Linked DNA regions of Homo sapiens: region 1 is linked to region 2. Evidence: promoter capture Hi-C in human tissues and cell types (Jung and others, 2019). All regions are on one chromosome and are shown on one strand. The core of a region is centred on a gene start or on the middle of the fragment in contact, and the rest is flanking DNA. Distances in the headings are between cores, read along the strand shown.

Region 1 (5,713 bases), core at 1,541-4,040, 81 kb before region 2:
CTAAAAGTATGTAAATGGCTTTAGCATTGCACAATGAGAAGAGGCTGGGAGAATTTTTAGAAGCATGCTATAAAAAGCCTAGATTACCTTGAACAGACTGTTAGTAAAAATATGAATGTTAATGACCCTGCTGGTGAGGACTCAGAAAGGAGGGAGGAGCAGAGTGGAGAAAATGCCTATCCCTTTAGAGAATACCTACAACAGGCAGGGTGCAGAGGCTCACACCTCTAACACCAGTACTTTGGGAAGCCGCAGTGGACAGATCATTTGAGGCCAGGAGTTCAACGCCAGCCTGGCCAACATGCTGAAACTCCATCTCTATTGAAAATACATGGTCAGGCAAGGTGGCTCACACCTGTAATCCCAGCATTTTGGGAAGCCGAGGAGGGTGGATCACCTGAGGTCAGGAATTTGAGACCAGCCTGGCCTATATTATAAAATCTCCTCTCTACCAAAAATATGAAAGTTAGCCAGGCATAGTGGCACACGCCTGTAGTCCCAGCTACTCAGGAGGCTGAGGCAGAACACTTGAACCCAGGAGGCGGAGGTTGCAGTGAACCAAGGCATATGAGACCACATGCCTCTCACCCCCAAGAGCGCCTAGCCCTGTGCCACCTCCTCCTCCTGGCCACTGCACTCCAGCCTGGGCAATAGAGTGAGACTCTGTCTAAAAAACAAAAAAAATGCAAAAATTAGCTGGGCATGGTGGGGCACGCCTGTAATCCCAGCTACTTGGGAGGCCGAGGCATGAGGATTGCTTGAACACTGGAGGCCGGAAGCGACAGTCAGCCATGACCACGCCACTGCACTCCAGCCTGGGCAACACAGCAACACTTTGTCTCAAAAAAAAAAAAAAAGAGAGAGAGAGAGAAAATACCTACAACATAGTCAGGAGCAGGAGCAGGATAAACATAAATAAGGACCTTTCATTCTCTCAGTCTTGTCATTTACCCACCTGTTACCACCCATGGGCAAACACATTTTCCCCCAGGTATCCTTTTTTTTTTTTTTTTTTTTTTTGAAACAGGTTCTCGCTCTATCACCCAGGCTGGAGTGCAGTGGTGTGATCATGCCTCACTGCAGCCTCAGCCTCCTGTTTTCCAGTGATCCTCCTACCTCAGCCTCCCAAGTAGCTGGGACCACGGGGGCATGCCACCATGCCCAGCTGATTTTTGTATTTTTGGTAGAGATGAGGTTTCACCATGTTGCCCTGGCTGGTCTTGAACTCCTGAGCTCAAGCAATCCTCCACCCACTCAGCCTCTCATTGTGCTGTGCTTATAGGCATGAACCACCGCACCCTGGCCTTCCCCAGGTATACTATGTGTATTCTGCTTTGATCACTTCTCTTAAAGGTCATGTTAATTAAAAAACATGTTAATGTTTCCATGTTCCCACATTTCATAATTATCCTTTGAAACAGAAGTCTGGCATTCCAATCAATTAGTTACTCCTAATTTATTCAATCATTCTCTACTTTAAAAAAAAAATGCTAGTAGAAATGATTCTGAAATAAGCACCTTTGTCCAATATTTTATTGACTTATTTAACACTATTTAGTGTAATTAGAAATAATAACTGTGTTTTTCTGAAAGTGTTTAATTTGTTCTTTCCCCCAAATGGACAATTAGTCCAAATGCACAAGAGGAGGCATATATGAAGAACCTAGGAACACACAGAAAGGAACAGCAAACACTGGGATCTACTTCCGGCTGGAGGGTGGGAGGAGGGAGAGGAGCAGCAAACAAACACTGGGAAGTGGGCTTAATACCTGGGTGATGAAATAATCTGTACAACAAACCCCCGTGGCACGAGTTTACCTATGTAACAAACCTTCACATATACCCTGAACCTAAAATAAAAGTTAAAAAAAAAAAAAAAGCCAGGTGCGGTGGCTCATGCCTGTAAGCCCAGCACTTTGGGAGGCCAAGGCAGGCGGATCACTAGAGGTCAGGAGTTCTAGACCAGCCTGGCCAACATGGTGAAACCTCATCTCTACTAAAAACACACAAAAAAAGGCTGGGTACGGTGGCTCACGCCTGTAATCCCAGCACTTTGGGAGGCCGAGGCGGGCAGATCATGAAGTCAGGAGATCCAGGCCATCCTGGCTAACACGGTGAAACCCCGTCTCTACTAAAAATACAAAAAAAAAATTAGCCAGGCATGGTGGCAGGCACCTGTGGTCCCAGCTACTCAGGAGGCTGAGACAGGAGAATGGCGTGAACCCGGGAGGCAGAGCTTGCAGTGAGCTGAGATTGCGCCACCGCACTCCAGCCTGGGCGACAAAGCGAGACTCCACCTCAAAAAAAAAAAAAAAAAAAAAAAAAAGCTGGGTGTGGCGGCACGTGCCTATAATCCCGGCTACTTGGGAAGCTAAGGCAGGAGAATAGCTTGAGCCCAGGAAGCCGAGGTTGCAGTGAGCTGAGATTGCGCCACTGCACTCCAGCCTGGGCAACAAAGGAAGACCCTGTCTCAAAAAAAAAAGAGGCATACATGGAAAAATGACACAGAAAAAGCATCCTAGATCCAGGTCACAGCCTCACTGGGTCTCTGAAAGTCCTCATTTCTGCGGACCAATGTCAGGCAATGTTTTTTCTCTCTCCTTGGTGCAACTAGGGAGCTTTCGGCTTGGGGCTTGGTGGGTGCAAAGACGAAATTCGTGCTGTGTATGATTTGTGCACTGGCAACGTGTGTCTTATCAACATTTCCAAGGAGAATTTGCTCCTGGGGAAAGTCAGCAGGGTCCAGAGAGCAAAAGGATCATAAAGCCAGGTAGGCCCAGGGGAGAAACAGCCGGTCTTTAGGTGGCTGGCGCAGAGCAGGTGTCACTTGGGAGGTAGAGCACACCTGTTCTCCCACCTGAACAAGGATGGAGAACAAAGAGGCGGGAACCCCTCCACCCATTCCATCCAGGGAGGGGGTAAGTGCCAAGACTAGGAACCTGTCACTGTCCCTCTCCCACCAGCTGTGCAGACCTGTGGAGGGAGGTGAAGGCCGTGGAATGCTTTTAGCAAGGAGCGGGTAGCGTGCTTCCTTTTTCTTCAGGATAACCAGGCCTGGGAGAGCCATGTGGAGAAGCAGCTATGCTCAAACCTCATGGCTCAGACATGGGCCAGGGTGGCTGAGCGAATGCTGGGAGAGCGGATGGTGCTGGAGATGCCTCTCTCCCTTCCACCCCTGCTCCCCTCCGCTTCCCCTACCCTTAAAGATCGAGGGGAGATGGCCTCTGAAGAATGCCCGAATCCTGCCCTTCTGTCTGGTTGTTCCTGGATGTGCAGAGCTACGGGCTGTGGGCAGCCAGGCAGCTAAGTGTGAGGGTTGGGGTGAGGACATGTGGAACAGGAGTGAGGGGTGGAGGGGGCAGTGGGGAGGGGGCATGCACCAGGGCCTTGGCTCTAGGACATGGTCAGAGACCCTGCCCACCTGCTCCTCAGACTTTGGCCCTCAGGCCAGTTCCCCTCCAAGCTGCCCTGGGTGTTGTGGCAACCATGGAAAGCCTGGCCCTGAGCACAGGCGACTGCCGGGATTTTCCTAAGGGCCTGTTCTAGAGGCAGAGGCAAGCAATGAGTCCCTCTGTCTGGGATGCTCTTCCCCCCGATGCTTACACAGCTGCTCCCTCTCATCCATTCTGGTCCCGGCTCAAAGGGCGCCTGCTCAGAGAGGCCTTCCCTGCCCTGCCCACCCTACTGAACACAGTCTCTCATTCCTCACAGGCTGCTACCCCACCCATCACCCTATTTTATTGTCCTCACAGCATTCTAGCTATTTGGAATTATCATCTTTGTCTTTCTTGGACGGGGTGGGCTCCCCTCACTAGAAAGTGAGCTTCTTAAAGGCAGTGCTTTGCTGGGCCTTTTTCCTAAAGCATCCCCTACTTCACACTTGGCCTCCAGGGCCTAGTACAGGGCCAGGCACGTAGCAGATGCTCAGATACATCCTCAAGGAGGGAATGAATGCGTGCAGAGACCTCAGCCCCCAAAAGCCCCAGCCCTGCGCCACCTCCTCCTCTTTTCCGGGGGCACGGCCTGGGATCCCCCATCCCCCACTTCCAGCCCAGGCTGGAGGGAGGTGGAGGCCCAGCCACTCCACTTCCCGAGGCCCAAGCCCACAGCGTCCCGACCTTGGACTTGTCTCCTACAGCGGCTCCAGCCGACGCTGTTGCTGGCGACACTGAGCGCGGCCTTTGGCTCAGCCTTCCAGTACGGCTACAACCTCTCTGTGGTCAACACGCCGCACAAGGTGGGCACAAGGTGGGCACAAGGTGGGCCGGGCAGCAGCTGACCGGGGTCGTGGGTGGAAGGTAGCCGCCATCTTCCTCCGTGGAGGCTGCCATCTTGCCTGTAGGAGGCACCATCTTGCCTTTGGGAGCAGCCAGCTTGCCCTAGTACCCTGGATGCTCACCCCTGGAGACCAGGGCGTGGCAGGAGGTGTTTCCCCCTGGAGTGTCGTCCTTTCCGGGCACATTGGGATGCTGGGGGACCTGTTCCATTTTCCAGCCCAGTCTTTTTGGGCCTCAGGTCCCACTGCTCTCACCTTGGGTAGGCCCCTTGTTGATTGGAAAGAGAATGGGGTCAAAGATTGAACTCTGTGGCATTTAGGGATTGGGGCAAAGGGGAAAAAAGGAAAAAGAGAAGGGGCCCTTGCAGGTGTGGAAGACCCTGAGGGCAGAATGTCCCCAAAACCTAGTAAAGGATGAGAGTCAAGGAGGGAGGGACAGCCTGTGCTGATGAGCTCAGATGAGGACTGAGAACTGACTACAGGCTTGACCTTGGTATACGTCTATGCTTACGCTTGTATACATATATTAGCATGTCTACAGACACTGTATTACATTTGTTTGTGTATTACGTATATATACATATATTAGTGTACTTACAATTATTACCATGGATGGAACCTCCGAGTCAAGCAATGTACCATCACTTAATCACATTTAATGCTAACACATTCTTTATAAGGTACATCTTGTTTCCATAACTGATGAGGAAATTAAGGTTTCTGGAGGTTCTGTAACTTGCCTGAAGTCACACAATTAGTAAAAATATTTCCTGGGCTGGGAGCGGTGGCTCACGCCTGCAATCCCAGCACTTTGGGAGGCTGAGGTGGGTGGATCACCTGATCACCTGAAATCAGGAGTTCAAGACCAGCCTGGCCAACATGGTGAAACCTCATCTCTACTAAAAATCCAAAAATTAGCCAGGCATGGTGGCGGGTATCTGTAATTCCAGCTACTCGGGAGGCTGAGACAGGAGAATCACTTGAACCCGGGAATCAGAGGTTGCAGTGAGCCAAGATCATGCCACTGCACTCCAGCCTGGGTGACAGAGTGAGACTTCATCTCAAAAAAAAAAAAAAAAAAAAAAAAAAAAAAAAAAAGAAGAAGAATATTTCCTATGGTGCCTCTGGCAGAGTAAGTCGTAAGTCTCTCAAAAGTAAAATTTTTTTTTTCTTTTCTTTTCTCTTCTTTTTTAATAGAGACAGGGTCTCCCTATGTTGGCCAGGTTGCTCTTGAACCCTTGGCCTCAAGCAATCCTCCCGCCTCGGCCTCCCAAAGTGCCAGGATTACAGGTGTGAGCCATTCCCAGCCAAAAGTAAATTTTTTTTTTTTGAGACGGAGTCTCGCTCTGTTGCCCAGGCTGGAGTGCAGTGCCGCAATCTCGGCTCACTGCAAGCTCCACCTCCCAGGTTCACGCCATTCTCCTGCCTCAGCCTCCT
Region 2 (5,053 bases), core at 1,989-4,488:
AGACAACGAGGTCAACTCCAAGGACTCTGGTGTTTGGGGGGCTTTGGTGCTAACCTCTAACTTTCCTGTGGCAACTGCTGGCCCTGGGAGCAAGACAGTGTTTTGAAATCAATGGAAGTCTTTTTTTTTTTTTTTTGAGACAGGGTCTCGCTGTGTCACCCAGGTTGGAGTGCAGTGGTGCAATCTTGGCTCACTGCAACCTCTGCCTCCCAGATTCAAGAGATTATCCGGCATCAGCCTCCGGAGTAGCTGGGATTACAGGCATGCACCACCACGCCTGGCTAATTTTTGTATTTTTAGTAGAGACGGGGTTTCACCATGTTGGCCAGGCTGATCTCTAACTCCTGACCTCAGGTGATCCACCCACCTTGGCCTCCCAAAGTGCTGGGATTACAGGCGTGAGCCACCGTGCCCGGCCTGAGAGTGTTTTATACGTAAATTTTTGCTCTCGTTTGACTTATTTCCAGCTGGTGAATGCATGGAGGGATCCTTGGCTTTGCTCTTCCTGTGCTGCTCCTGGGGCCTCTTCCTCATTTCCTCCCAAGGGCCCAGTTGTCCTTCCATGCCCCCAACAGGAACACAGCCCCCACCTCCCCATGCTGCAGGAACCCCCCACCACTATTTTCTTGCTCCAGCCCCTTTTATGGATTCCCGTATGGTAAAGACCATCTAGGTGTCTACACTTATGGATTCAGGGAAACTAAGGAAGCATCAGGTTCCAGGACAACCTAGAATGAGTACTTTTTTAAAATTCATAAGGAGAAAGTTTATCTTTTCAGAGAGGGTTGATAATCGTAGGGGACAGAGTAACATAGGTGAGTGATTATCATGGTGACTTGGCTCCCATACAGCTGTGGAGCTTGGAGTCAGCCATGTGACATGGAGAATCCCACCTCTGTTCCCTGTTCGGGGGTAGCTGTGTGGTGAGTACACAGCTTGTTTTAAGACAGGTGTTTGTGGCTGGGCACGGTGGCTCATGCCTGTAATCCCAACACTTTGGGAGGCCGAGGCGGGTGGATCACCTAAGGTTGGGAGCTCGAGACCCACCCTGACAAACCTGGAGAAACTCCATCTCTACTAAAAATAAAAAACAATCAGCCGGGCATGGTGGCACATGCCGTTAATCCCAGCTACTTGAGAGGCTAAGGCAGGAGAATCACTTGAACCCAGGAGGCAGAGGTTGCGGTGAGCCGAGATCGCGCCACTGCACTCCAGCCTGGGCAACGAGAGTGAAACTCTCAAAAAAAAAAAAAAAGGTGTCTGTACTAGGGCCCTCACCGCTTTTTGGTTTGTAATCAAGGCAATTGGCCTGGAGCACAACGCCTTCTCAGAGCAAGATGCTTTGGCCCAGGGCACTGTCAATACTGGAACATCTCTCAGGTTTCCCTGGAAGGCATTTACAAAAGCTACTCTCAAGTTCTCCTGGAGCCCCTAGTAGTTTCCCAGGAAGCCCACTGTCTCAGAGGCTGGGCAGAGCCTGGGAAGGACAAGGACTTCATTGTCTGAATTCTCTCTTCCTTCACCTCTGAACCACCTGCCTGCACTGCTTGGCCAAGTGAAGCAGAATGCCCCAGGCTTCCGAGGCACTGCCATGTGTAAGATCACTGTCCTCAGGAACAGAGCGGTTGTTCAGAGCTGGCTGGACTTTCTGAACCTCCCAGGATGTCCCTAATTCCGTTGCCCTTGACTTAACAGATCATCCCGTTCACCCTGAAGGAATGCTTCCGGAGCAGCTGAACTGGGGCAGACTCTGCAGGAAGCAGATGTTTGTCTCACTTCCTGCATCAGCCAGCGGCCACCAGCCTCCTCATGGGCCCCAATCCATGGTCCCGTATGGAAAGAAGGGGGATGCGGGAAGAAGCTCTCCTCACTGCCCCTGGAAAGGGCTGTTTAGTGTCCACAAAGTCCACAGACACGGCCTTCTAGCTTTGGCTCACATGTGGACCAGAACCCATGTTGAATGCCAGGATTTTACATTTCACATTTTAAAAGTCTGGTTTGGGGCCTGGCGCGGTGGCTCACGCCTGTAATCCCAGCACTTTGGGAGGCTAAGGTGGGCGGATCACTTGAGGTCAGAAGTTTGAGAACAGCCTGGCCAACGTGGTAAAACCCCATCTCCACTAAAAATACAAAAGTTAGCCAGGCATGGTGATGAGTGCCTGTAATCCCAGCTACTTGGGAGGCTAAGACATGAGAATCGCTTGAAACCAGGAGGCAGAGGTTGCAGTAAGCCGAGATGGCACCACTGAACTCCAGCCTGGGCAACAGAGCAAGACTCTGTCTCAAAAAAAAAAAAAAAACAAAAAAAAAAACACCTCTCATTTTGGCAGCCCACAGATCAAAGGGAACTGGGTCCTTATGTCAAGATGTTCTGGGTAAACTGCCTACCATGAAATTTCCAAGAAAGAAGGTCTCGCAAACCCCACAGCACCTTCCGTGAGGTTACCGAGAGTCTTTTCTAAGAACTTTGTTTTCCACTTACACGGACCAACAAAGCAAATGGTTTTACAAATAGAAGCAGTGAGTGTGCTTTTGAACCAGCCAACACTGTGGATGGAAAAAAATTTAAAGCAAAAAGCCTGTAAGTAAATCAGGAGTTTGTGAAGGGGAAAGCTATTTCCTTCTTTTCCTTATTTGAAGTTTAAGTTCAGCTTATTCTCCATACCTTCTGAGACACTGAAAAGGTAACATCTGAAGCCACAATGAGCAGACCCCCAACATATGGCAAGTGGGCTGCCTGGCCATCCTGTGAAATGCCCTAAAGGAGGACTCTTGGCCGGGCGCAATGGCTCATGCCTGTAATCCCAGCACTTTGGGAGATGGGCAGATCACCTAAGGTCAGGAGTTCGAGACCAGCCTGGACAACATGGTGAAACCCTGTCTCTACTAAAAATACAAAAATTAGCCAGGCATGGTGGCAGGCACCTGTAATCCCAGGTACTCGGGAGGCTAAGGCAGCAGAATCACTTGAACCCGGGAGGCGGAGGTTGCAGTGAGCCAACATCACACTACTGTACTCAAGCCTGGGCAACAGAGCAAGACTTTGTCTAAAAAAAAAAAAAAGAAGAAGAAGAAGGGCACTTGTCCTGTTGTAAGGGTGTGAGGGTAACTGGGGGAGCATGCAGAAGCTAGGGGCTCACCTGAGTAGGTCCAGTCAGACACATGCTGGGCCTGGCCACCCAGCAGGAACAGGGACAGCAGAAGCACCAGGGCCCTCATGGTGCTGCACATCTGTAATGAAGACTGATTCCGGCGAAGCTCTTCTTTTAAAGGCTCAGAAACTGTAAATAACAATTTACAATTGATCTGCCCAGCTGGCTAAACCACCCTTTGCTGCACCCACTAAAACAATAACACCCTCCCCATAACAGCACTTCTGGCTCCGTGCATTGCGCCAGGCAGCCCCAGCACCTGCCTGATCTCCTCCCACGTCAATTTCATATCCGGTCAGTCCATGGGTTTGGTTGTTCAGTGTCTTAGGAACACCTGAAGAGCCACACAGTGCAGCCATTGTGGACAGGTGACCGCGGAAATGGGAAAAGGCCCAAGGCAGGGAGAAGCAGGATGAAAGACTTTCCTGGACGTCGGACTTCCCATGCTCTTTCTCCTGACATTAGAGATCTGGGGACTGCTGATGGGATCACCACTGCCTGCAAACCCTGCCCATCTCAGTCATGGACACAAGCCACCGCTGCAGACATGTGGCTGCCCTCAGCCAGGCATCCAGGGAGGTGGCCTGGCCTCCATGTTTGGACATTTCACGGTCCTCTCCTTAAACCAGTGGTTGATCCTGGGTCCCAGCTCATGAGCCACATTCCAATGTGTGCCTTTATGCCATTCAAGCTGGTGTGGGCGTCTGCATTTCTACATGGATTTGTTCTGACACCTGCAGGGCTCTTGGGCACACCTAAGCCAATCAGCCAATTGCCCTCGCAGGATCCATGGATTACCTAATCCTGTGTATTCACTTGGCTAGACAGTCCCTGAAATTAGCTGAAGGAGAAACTTTTGAGTTTATGCCTGCTGACAGGCCAGCATTTCCCATGCCCTTCCACAAGGTCAAACACAAAGGGTAGCCGGAGCTCCTGCGGGGGGGCTACCATGCTGCCGGACACAAAGGGCCACCCCTGCCTTGTTATGGGGAGCTGAACCCCCTCCTGGCCTAGCTTAACTCATTGTCCACTTGGTCCTGGAATGGCAAACGTCAGCAGGCCTTCACAACAAGGATGTTAGCGGTGAACGTAGGCCTCCCGAATACTTCTAAGACTCCCCACTGTCATTTAATAGGGAACATCAGCTGCTGCAAAGAACTTGCTGGAAACTTCCATTTCTAAAGCTCAAGAGCTGAAAGAATCTCAGAGAGAGAGCAAAGCATGTTCAAGGACAAGGATTCTGAAACTAGACAGGATCTGTGCCACCTGCTAACTGTGTGACCATGGGCAACTCAGCGCTCTGTGCCTCAGCTTTCCTTCCTTTTCTTTTTTCTCTTTCTTTCTTCCTTTCTCTCTTTCTTTTCTTTCTCTCTTTCTCTCTTTCTTTCTTTTTTGAGACAGGGTCTCTCTCTGTCACCAGGCTGGAGTGCAATGATACGATTTCAGCTCACTTCTCTTGGACTCAAGCAATCCTCCTGCCTCAGCTTCCCAAGTAGCTGGGACCACAGTCGCATGCCACTACGCCCTGCTAATTTTTGTACTTTTTGTAGATACAGGTTTTCACCATGTTGCTTAGGCTGGCCTCAAACTCCTGGACTCAAGCGATTCTCCCGCCTCGTGCTCCCAAAGTGCTGGGATTACAGGCGTGAGCCGCCGCACCTGGCCGCCTCCTTTCTTTAAAAGGAGTTAGTGATAGCACCTCCTTTGTGGGGATTCGGCAATAAATGTGCCTGCAGTAGTTGGAGCAGTGCCTGGTGTGTAGCAAATGGCATTAGCATCTATTCAGACCCCTCATTTTATAGGAAAAGGAAGTGATTTATCATTGCCACCCAGCTGGTTAGTGAGGGAACTGGAGGAAAAATGCTTCAATCTCCAGCTTATGGACCATTTCTTTGCAAAAA

Evidence for each region. The method cuts DNA at HindIII sites, captures the fragments that hold promoters and counts their contacts. A contact is called where the count stands out against the background at its distance.
Region 1: a contact is called between the fragment with the promoter of SLC2A7 here and the fragment with the promoter of CA6 in region 2, in 3 of the 25 tissues and cell types used here (IMR-90 fibroblasts, adrenal gland and mesenchymal stem cells).

What each region holds. Positions count from the first base shown.
Region 1 is chr1:9,023,500-9,029,212 of GRCh38, reverse strand. SLC2A7 (solute carrier family 2 member 7) reads left to right here and starts at 2,790. Exons shown (of 12, transcript NM_207420.3): 1 at 2,790-2,918; 2 at 4,139-4,237. The coding sequence starts at 2,868. The HindIII fragment of the contact is 20,163 bases long and covers 1-5,713 here.
Region 2 is chr1:8,944,053-8,949,105 of GRCh38, reverse strand. It overlaps CA6 (carbonic anhydrase 6), which reads right to left and starts at 3,238. Exons shown (of 8, transcript NM_001215.4): 1 at 3,141-3,238. The coding sequence starts at 3,219. The HindIII fragment of the contact is 10,958 bases long and covers 1-5,053 here.